2 separate regions of the Homo sapiens genome follow, and region 2 is linked to region 1. Evidence: promoter capture Hi-C in 16 types of primary human blood cells and fetal thymus (Javierre and others, 2016). All regions are on one chromosome and are shown on one strand. Each heading gives the region's core, a stretch centred on a gene start or on the middle of the fragment in contact. The rest is flanking DNA. Distances are from core to core; before and after follow the strand shown. Region 1 holds the start of CCR7 (C-C motif chemokine receptor 7). Region 2 holds the start of GJD3 (gap junction protein delta 3).

The links. Contacts are between HindIII fragments. The CHiCAGO score rates a contact against its expected background, and 5 or more counts as called.
Region 2: the fragment with the promoter of GJD3 here is called in contact with the fragment with the promoter of CCR7 in region 1 in 15 of 17 cell types (megakaryocytes, fetal thymus, erythroblasts and 12 more); the score reaches 16.3 in megakaryocytes.

What each region holds. Positions count from the first base shown.
Region 1 is chr17:40,564,152-40,568,306 of GRCh38, reverse strand. It overlaps CCR7 (C-C motif chemokine receptor 7), which reads left to right and starts at 2,835. Exons shown (of 3, transcript NM_001838.4): 1 at 2,835-2,907. The coding sequence starts at 2,898. RefSeq lists an enhancer at 3,280-4,155. The HindIII fragment of the contact is 7,070 bases long and covers 1-4,155 here.
Region 2 is chr17:40,362,162-40,366,427 of GRCh38, reverse strand. It overlaps GJD3 (gap junction protein delta 3), which reads left to right and starts at 1,691. Exons shown (of 1, transcript NM_152219.4): 1 at 1,691-4,266. The coding sequence starts at 2,613. The coding sequence ends at 3,497. It overlaps GJD3-AS1 (GJD3 antisense RNA 1), which reads right to left and starts at 3,583. Exons shown (of 1, transcript NR_186704.1): 1 at 993-3,583. RefSeq lists silencers at 3,240-3,349, 3,380-3,459, 3,580-3,649 and an enhancer at 3,477-3,771. The HindIII fragment of the contact is 7,280 bases long and covers 1-4,266 here.

The sequences.
Region 1 (4,155 bases), core at 1,586-4,085:
TTTCCTCTATCCTCTGTGGGTCGAGCTGATTCCTTAATCAGTCCCAATGCAAGTATCTGGATGTTTCAGATAAAGGTTTTGAAGTACCCACCCCTTTGTTCCTCTCTGAGAGAGCCATGCCCCATACCTGCTTCTAGTTGGCCATCTTTGAAAATAAAATTAAGAAAACAATTTCATTTACAAGCACATCAAAAAGAGTAAAATACTTAAGAAAAAATTTAACAAAGAAGTGAAAGACTTGCAGCCTAAAAAGTATAAAGAAATTAAGGAAGACCTAAATAAATGAAAAAAATCCCATGTTCATGGACCAAAAGACTTTGTTAGAATGGCAATACTCCCTAAATTGATTTACAGATTCAATGAAATTCCTATTAGAATCCCAGCTGGTTTCATTGCAGAAATTGATAACCTAAAATTCATATGGAAAAGAGAGAGATGCAGATTAGTCAAACAATGTTTAAAAAGACAGATAAAGTTGGAGCAGTCACAACTCCCAATTTCAAAATTTGCTATAAAGCTACAGTAATCGAGACAGTGTGGTACTGTCATAGGACAGACACAGAGATTGATAAAATAGAATTGATAGTCTAGAAATAAACCATTACATTTATGATGAATTGATTTCCAACAGAGGTGCTAAGACAGTTCAATGGTGGAAAAAATAGTCTTTTCAACAAATGATGCTGGGAAAACTAGATATCCATATAAAAAATGAAGCTGGATCCCTACCTCACACCATATGCAACAATTAGCTCAAAATGGATCAGATCTAAATGTTGCAGCTAAAACTATAAAAGTCTTAAAAGAACATATACGAATAAATCTTTGTATACTTGAATTATGCAATGGTTTCTTAGATATGGCACCAAAGACACAATTGACAAAAGAAAAATAAATCAATTGAACCTCCACATTTAAAACTTTGCGCTTCTTTTGCCAGAGATTCAGGTTTTAAAAAACAAAAAGCCTTTGTGCTTCAAAGGACGCTATCAAGAAAGTGAAAAGATGATCCATAGTAAGGGAGAAAATATTTACAGATATGTATCAGATAAGGGATTGTAACCAGAATATATAAAGAAGTCTTACAACTCAATAATAAAAAATAAATAACCCAATTTTTTAAATGGGCAAAGGATTTGAATAGAAATTTCTCAAAAAATAATACAAATGGTCAATAAGAGCATGAAAAGATGCTCAGCATAGGTAGTCATTAGGAAAACGCATATCAAAACTACAAAGAGGCCGGGCATGGTGGCTCATGCCTGCAATCCCAGCACTTTGGGAGGCCGAGGCTGGCAGATCACCTTAGGTTAGGAGTTTGAGACCAGCTTGGCCAACATGGTGAAACCCCGTTTCTACTAAAAATACAAAAATTAGCCAGGCATGGTGGCACGTGCCTGTAGTCCCAGCTACTTGGGAGGCTGAGGCAGGAGAATCACTTGAACCCAGGAGGTGGAGACTGCAGTAAGCCAAGATCGTGCCACTGCACTCCAGCCTGTGCAACAGAGTAAGACTCCATCTCCAAAAAAAAAAAAGAAAAAAGAAAAAAAACACAATGAGATACCACTTTACAGCCACTAGGATGGCTAGAATCAAAAGAATGGACAATAGTAAGTTTTGTTGACAATGTGGAACCCTCACGCATTGTTGATGGGAACAAAATGGTGTAGTCACTTTGGAAAACAGTTTGATAGTTCGTCAAAATGTTAAATATATAATTACCATATGACTCAACAATTTCACTTCTAGGTATATACCCAAGAGAAATAAAGCATATGTCCACACAAACACTTGCACATAAATATTTATAGCAGCATCATTCATAATAGCTAAAAGGGAAAACAGCCCAAACATCCAACTGATGACAGACAAACAAAATGTGGCATATCCATACAATGGAATGTTATTCAGCCATAAAAAGGAATGGGGAATGGATCCATACCACCACATAGGTAACCTTGAAAACACTAACTGAAAGAAGCCAGATGTGAAGGTCACATATTGATACTTCTATTTATGTGAAATGTTCAGAATAGGAAAATCTATAGAGCCAGAAAGTAGATTTGTGGTTGCCAGGGGCTTTCGATGACAGGAGGGGAGGGGAGCAGTCATTGCTAGTGATTACAGGGTTCTTGAGAGGGAGTGAGAAAAAATGTTCTAAAATGTATTGTGGTGATGGTTGCATAACTCTGTGAACATACAAAAACCATTGAATTCTATACTTTAAAAAGGTAAATTTTATGGGATGTGGATTATAGCTCAATAAAGCTGTCATTAAGAAAGGAAAAGGAAGGGAGGGGAGAAGAGGGAAAGGGGAGGGAGGGGAGGGGAGGGGAAGGGGGGAGAAAAAAGATACATCGTGGCATATCTCTTCCCTTTTACCTGTCATTATGTGTCAGTGCCTCCCATTGGCCTAAACTACCCAGAAGCCAGAGGGAAAGCCATTTGGGACTATATTCCACTGTGACACTGAGCAGAGCAAGGGAAGGATGGGGACACTTCTCTCACACATCTCTGACTCCCCAACATCTAACCCATGGCCTGGCATGTGATATTCATGCTATAAATATTTGTTGAATCAGTAAATGGCCCCTCATCTAGATTCTGCCAGGCAGCGCAGGGGGCTTTTTGAATGTAAATGACCTAATGATTCAGGATCCTATGACCAGCGACTGTCACCCTCTGTCACCTTTCTTCTGCCCCTTTATCTCTGAAGGCATTGAAGGGGCCCTGCATGAGTCAGGGAGGGCTGGGGGGAGGAGCAAGGGTGGGAGGGGCAGGGAAGAGGGTGGCTTCTCCGACAACTTAAAAGGGGCTTGAACCACTTCCTCCCCAGACAGGGGTAGTGCGAGGCCGGGCACAGCCTTCCTGTGTGGTTTTACCGCCCAGAGAGCGTCATGGACCTGGGTGAGTGAGCCTCTTCATGTGAGAAGGAACAGTACCAGGGTCTTGGACACCCAGACTGACCCTGTGGAATGGGGGTGGAGGATGCGGGTGGAGCGCATAGGGGTGCTTCCTGGAGAAATCAGTTCTGATTTGGTGGGCATTGGAAGCTACTTCCAGAGAATGCCCCCTGCTGTCCCAGGAGGGGTGCACCTGCCCTTTCAGACCTGGAGAAGGGGTCAGCCTTTGGTGCCAGTGGGGACAAGGGAGGGGCCGAGATCATGTCTTTCTAAAACAGCAGGGACATAAGAGAGTGGCGGGGCTGGGCTTGGTGGTCTGGCAGAACCTGTTCTCATCATGAGGGTGATAGGTTAGGCCCTCTGGGACCTCTGGGGACAGGTTTCAACAGAGAAATTCTCCCTAGAGAGCTTAGGACCTTTTACCCACTCTCTGATTCCCACCTTTCTCCCCTGCCAAATATTCATATACCTGTCCACTTGGGGTCATGAGGAGATGCAAATGAAACGTGACTGGGTTGTGAGAATGGTGCGGTGCATTGCAAATGCAAGCTCTGGTTGCTTTCTCTCTGCTGCACATCCCACCTGCTTTGATCTGGCTTTGCTGTTGCCTCTTGCAAGTTAAGGAACGGGCAGGCAACATGGAATGGGATGGCAAGGGGCACTCAGCTTGGAGAAATCATAGCCAGGCCTTCAGCACAGCCCCTGCCCCTGAGCAAACCTCACGCACTCTGCCCCGGCAGATAACTCTACTCTTTAGAAAGCCCTTTCTCAGGTCTAACCTAGAAGGGGTCAAGGGGAAGCACTGAGGGTGTTCTGAGTGGTTCATCCAGCTCCAGACGCCCCCTTTATAAATCTCAGCTGTGGAGTCAGACCAGGCTGAGGCTAAGAAGACCAGGTTCCTAGATGGCTTGTCTCACCAGCAAACAATGCACCACGGCGGCCTCAAAGCCGCAAAGGGTTGGCTTTAAAAAGTGAAGGTTCCCTGGTGCTGTCCTCACACCCCTCCTCGCCACACCACAGCCTCCTTGATTTCATCTCTTACTTTCCCGCCTGCCCTGAACGCTGGATCTGGACCCAGCAAACAGCTGTGAAAGGGTTAAAGTGGTCACCCCACCCACTGACTGTGAACTCCTGAAAGGCAGGTTCAGGTGCTTTGAGGATGTGAGGAGAAAATGTCTGCGGAATGAATGAATACACCGTATCAAGAACTCCGTAGAGTTTAGTTTTTGAAAATCTCTTCCAAATGCCTCAT
Region 2 (4,266 bases), core at 442-2,941, 200 kb after region 1:
CGAATGAGCTCATTGGCATATGGAGCTAACGGGGTTCCACACGGGGACTGGCCCAGCAGGTGCATAGGTGAAGCGGGTTTTGCTATGCACTCAGGCGGACCCCTAGGAAGGCAGAGCAGACAACCAAACATCTCAGCCTGGAGTGTCCCCTCCCTGACCACTCAGATCACCGTCGGTCACCCTTACTCCCTTCTCCATAAAACAGCTTCCCCCGCCACCCAGGGCAGTAGGAGGGAACTCTCAATTCAGAGCCTTCTGGGGGGAAAAAGTCCTATTTTTCACATTATAAAATAACATGAGGCCGGGCGCGGTGACTCAAGCCTGTAATCCCAGCACTTTGGGAGGCCGAGGCAGGTGGATCACCTGAGGTCAGGATTTCGAGACCAGCCTGACCAACATGGAGAGATCCTGTCTCTATTAAAAATACAAAATTAGCTGGGCATGGTGGCACATGCCTGTAATCCCAGCTATTCAGGAGGCTGAGGCAGGAGAATCGCTTGAACCCGGGAGGAGGAGGTTGCGGTGAGCTGAGATCACACCACTGCACTCCAGCCTGGGCAACAAGAGCAAAACTCTGTCTCAATAAATAAATAAATAAATAAATAATAAAATAACATGTTAGGCCGGGTGTGGTAGCTCACGCCTGTAATCCCGGCACTTTGGGAGGCTGAGATAGGCGGATTGTTTGAGGTCAAGAGTTCGAGATCAGCCTGGTCAACATGGCGAAACCCCACCTCTACTAAAAATACAAAAATTAGCCGGGCGTGGTGGCGCACACCTGTAATCCCAGCTACTGGGGAGGCTGAGGCAGGAGAATCGCTTGAACCCGGGAGGCGGAGGTTGCATTCAGCCAAGATCATGCCACTGCACTCCAGCCTGGGCGACAGAGCTAGACTCCATCTCAAAACAAACAAATTAAAAATAAATAAATAAATAACATGTTCATTATAGTAAAGCTGGAAATAACAGAAAAGTGGGAAGGAAACCAAAGATTTTATTTAACTATCAAAGCCAGGCACTTGGGATATTTTAATGGTTTTCCATATGGGATTTTTTTTTTTTTTTTTTTTTTTGCAGGCACAAGGGTTTTTTTGGTTCTCTGTAATATGGTTGGGAATTCAATATTAAGAAGTAGAGAATCCCAGCTACTCAGGAGGCTAAGGTGTGAGGATCACTTGAAGCCAGGAGTTCAAGATCGACCTGGGCTATGTAGAGAGACCCCGTTCCAAAAAAGATGTAAAGCTGGAAGGAAACTTGGGGGTCAGCTGGACTGGCCGCCTTTGTTGACAAGGCAGGAAAGCCTGGCTCAGTACCGCCGAATGATTTGTCCAAGGTGAGCGGTGGCAGAGCTGGAACCAGAAGCTGTTAGATGTTTGCTGCCCCTTAAACTCCAGCACCAAACCTCCCTCTGTCCCCGAAGACCATCTTCACAGGGCATGGTTAGTGCGTAGTGGATCTAGGCTCCAGACTGAGGGTCTGTCTGGGAAGGGCTTCTAGGAATCCCCCAGCTTCCTCGATAAAGGATGTGGCTCTGGTTACCCCCCTCCCCCATTTCCAGATGGAAATTTAGCTAAAGAGTGAGGGCCACAGAGCCCAGCAAGGGGCGTGGTCCGTGCCTGTTCCCAAGGGCGGAGCCAGCCAGCAGGGTCACCCTGTTCCTTTAAGAGAAGGGGGAGCGCTAGCCCCTCTCAGCCATCCTGTCCTGTCCTCCATCCTGGCCAAATCCGAAAGGGAAAATGAAAGAGGGAGCAGGAGGCGCCGGTCCCAGCCACCTCCCAAGGTCCCTGGCTCAGCTCTGACACCCCAGTCCCGGCCCCAGGGTGAGTGGGGTTGGGTGGCGGTTTAGGGGCACCAGGGGCGTGTGGGGACCTGTGTAAGTGTGGGGTGGGGAGGATCTCAGGAGATGTGGAGGCTGGAGGCACAGGAGGCCAGGGAGGAGGGAGAAGCCTGGCGTCGCACTCCCACCACGCTGGGGTAGGAGGGCAGGGACACCTCCGACAAAGGACCCTGTGAGAGTTATGAAAGCGGAGTTGCCTCTGTACCAGCCCCCCACCCTGAGAGGAGTTCACTGCAGTAAAAATGGTGAGAGAAATGGTGGGCCAAGAAAGGAGTGGTCTCGCTGCCTCTGCCACTCCCACTCCTCCCATGGGCACCAAATTGGGTCTAGCGTCTCGGGTTCGAGGCTCCACTCTTCCCACAGCATCCTTGACAGCTAAGGGCACCGCTGGGTTTCCGCTTCCGAAACCAGGCAAGTCAGGGGCTGGTCCAGCTGATCTCCAAGGTCCTTCCTAAGAATCTGGGATCTGGAGGATCCCAGGGTCGAACGGAGACGGCTCAGGGGGTGCGGCTAAAATGCAAATGGGGGATCCTCCCCAGCACCCATCGGTCCCAAAGAGAAGGTAACCCATAGCTGAGCGTCGCCTGCTCCCCTCGGGCCCTCCCGTGGCCCTCCGTTTCATACTGGTCTCATCGCTAAACCCGGGCCTCTCCTACCTCACGACTCACCCTGAAGTCAGAGAAGGTCCAACGGACCCCACCCCGATAGGCTTGGAAGGGGCAGGGGTCCCTGACTTGCCCCATCCCCTGACTCCCCGCCCCGCGTCCCCAGCGCCATGGGGGAGTGGGCGTTCCTGGGCTCGCTGCTGGACGCCGTGCAGCTGCAGTCGCCGCTCGTGGGCCGCCTCTGGCTGGTGGTCATGCTGATCTTCCGCATCCTGGTGCTGGCCACGGTGGGCGGCGCCGTGTTCGAGGACGAGCAAGAGGAGTTCGTGTGCAACACGCTGCAGCCGGGCTGTCGCCAGACCTGCTACGACCGCGCCTTCCCGGTCTCCCACTACCGCTTCTGGCTCTTCCACATCCTGCTGCTCTCGGCGCCCCCGGTGCTGTTCGTCGTCTACTCCATGCACCGGGCAGGCAAGGAGGCGGGCGGCGCTGAGGCGGCGGCGCAGTGCGCCCCCGGACTGCCCGAGGCCCAGTGCGCGCCGTGCGCCCTGCGCGCCCGCCGCGCGCGCCGCTGCTACCTGCTGAGCGTGGCGCTGCGCCTGCTGGCCGAGCTGACCTTCCTGGGCGGCCAGGCGCTGCTCTACGGCTTCCGCGTGGCCCCGCACTTCGCGTGCGCCGGTCCGCCCTGCCCGCACACGGTCGACTGCTTCGTGAGCCGGCCCACCGAGAAGACCGTCTTCGTGCTCTTCTATTTCGCGGTGGGGCTGCTGTCGGCGCTGCTCAGCGTAGCCGAGCTGGGCCACCTGCTCTGGAAGGGCCGCCCGCGCGCCGGGGAGCGTGACAACCGCTGCAACCGTGCACACGAAGAGGCGCAGAAGCTGCTCCCGCCGCCGCCGCCGCCACCTCCGCCACCGGCCCTGCCCTCCCGGCGCCCCGGCCCCGAGCCGTGCGCCCCGCCGGCCTATGCGCACCCGGCGCCGGCCAGCCTCCGCGAGTGCGGCAGCGGCCGCGGCAAGGCGTCACCGGCCACCGGCCGCCGAGATCTGGCCATCTAGGGGCGGGCACCGCCTCGCGCGGACTGGACGGCGAGGGCCGGACCCCGCCACCTCCGCCCGCACCGCAGAAGCCGGAAGCTGCTTCCACCAGAGCTGTCGCGGGACCTGCCCCGGCAGGAGACGCGTTGTGGGGACGGCCCGCGGGCGGCATCGCACTTGCCTCGTACTGCCTCCCAGTGGCTGCCGGCGGCACCTGGGGCAGGCCGGGCTGGGGGCGGAGAATGAACTCAGGCAGGTCCTGGATGCCACCACCCAGGTGGAAAGGAAGGAGACCAGGACCCTGAGAGAGAGTGGACCCGAGGGGGAGAACAGAGCGGAAGGTGGAGAGTGGTTGTTTTACTGGGGACAAAAACAACTGTGATGCCAGCATTCTCAGGCACTCTCTGTGTTCAGAGAGAGAGTGGTCCCCCTGTGGGCTCTCTGCGAGTGTGCATACACGGACACATAAGCACTGTGAGCTGTGTGCACGCGCACCTGTACACCCTGTGTGAGCGCTGTGCATGTGCGCGCATGTGTACACCCTGCGTGAGGCCCACTTGTGCACACAGACACACGTAACCCTCCCGGGTGAGCTGTGTGCACATGCACACAGAAACATATGCCCCTTGAGAGCTGTGTACTCACATCCCTGTGAGCTTTGTGTGAGTGCATTGTGCACACACGCACATGTCCATTCTGTGTGGGCTGCGTGTGCACACCTGTACACAGAAACATCCTTGTGCGCTATGTGTGCATGTGTACATCCGGCGTGACCTCTGTGTGTGCACGC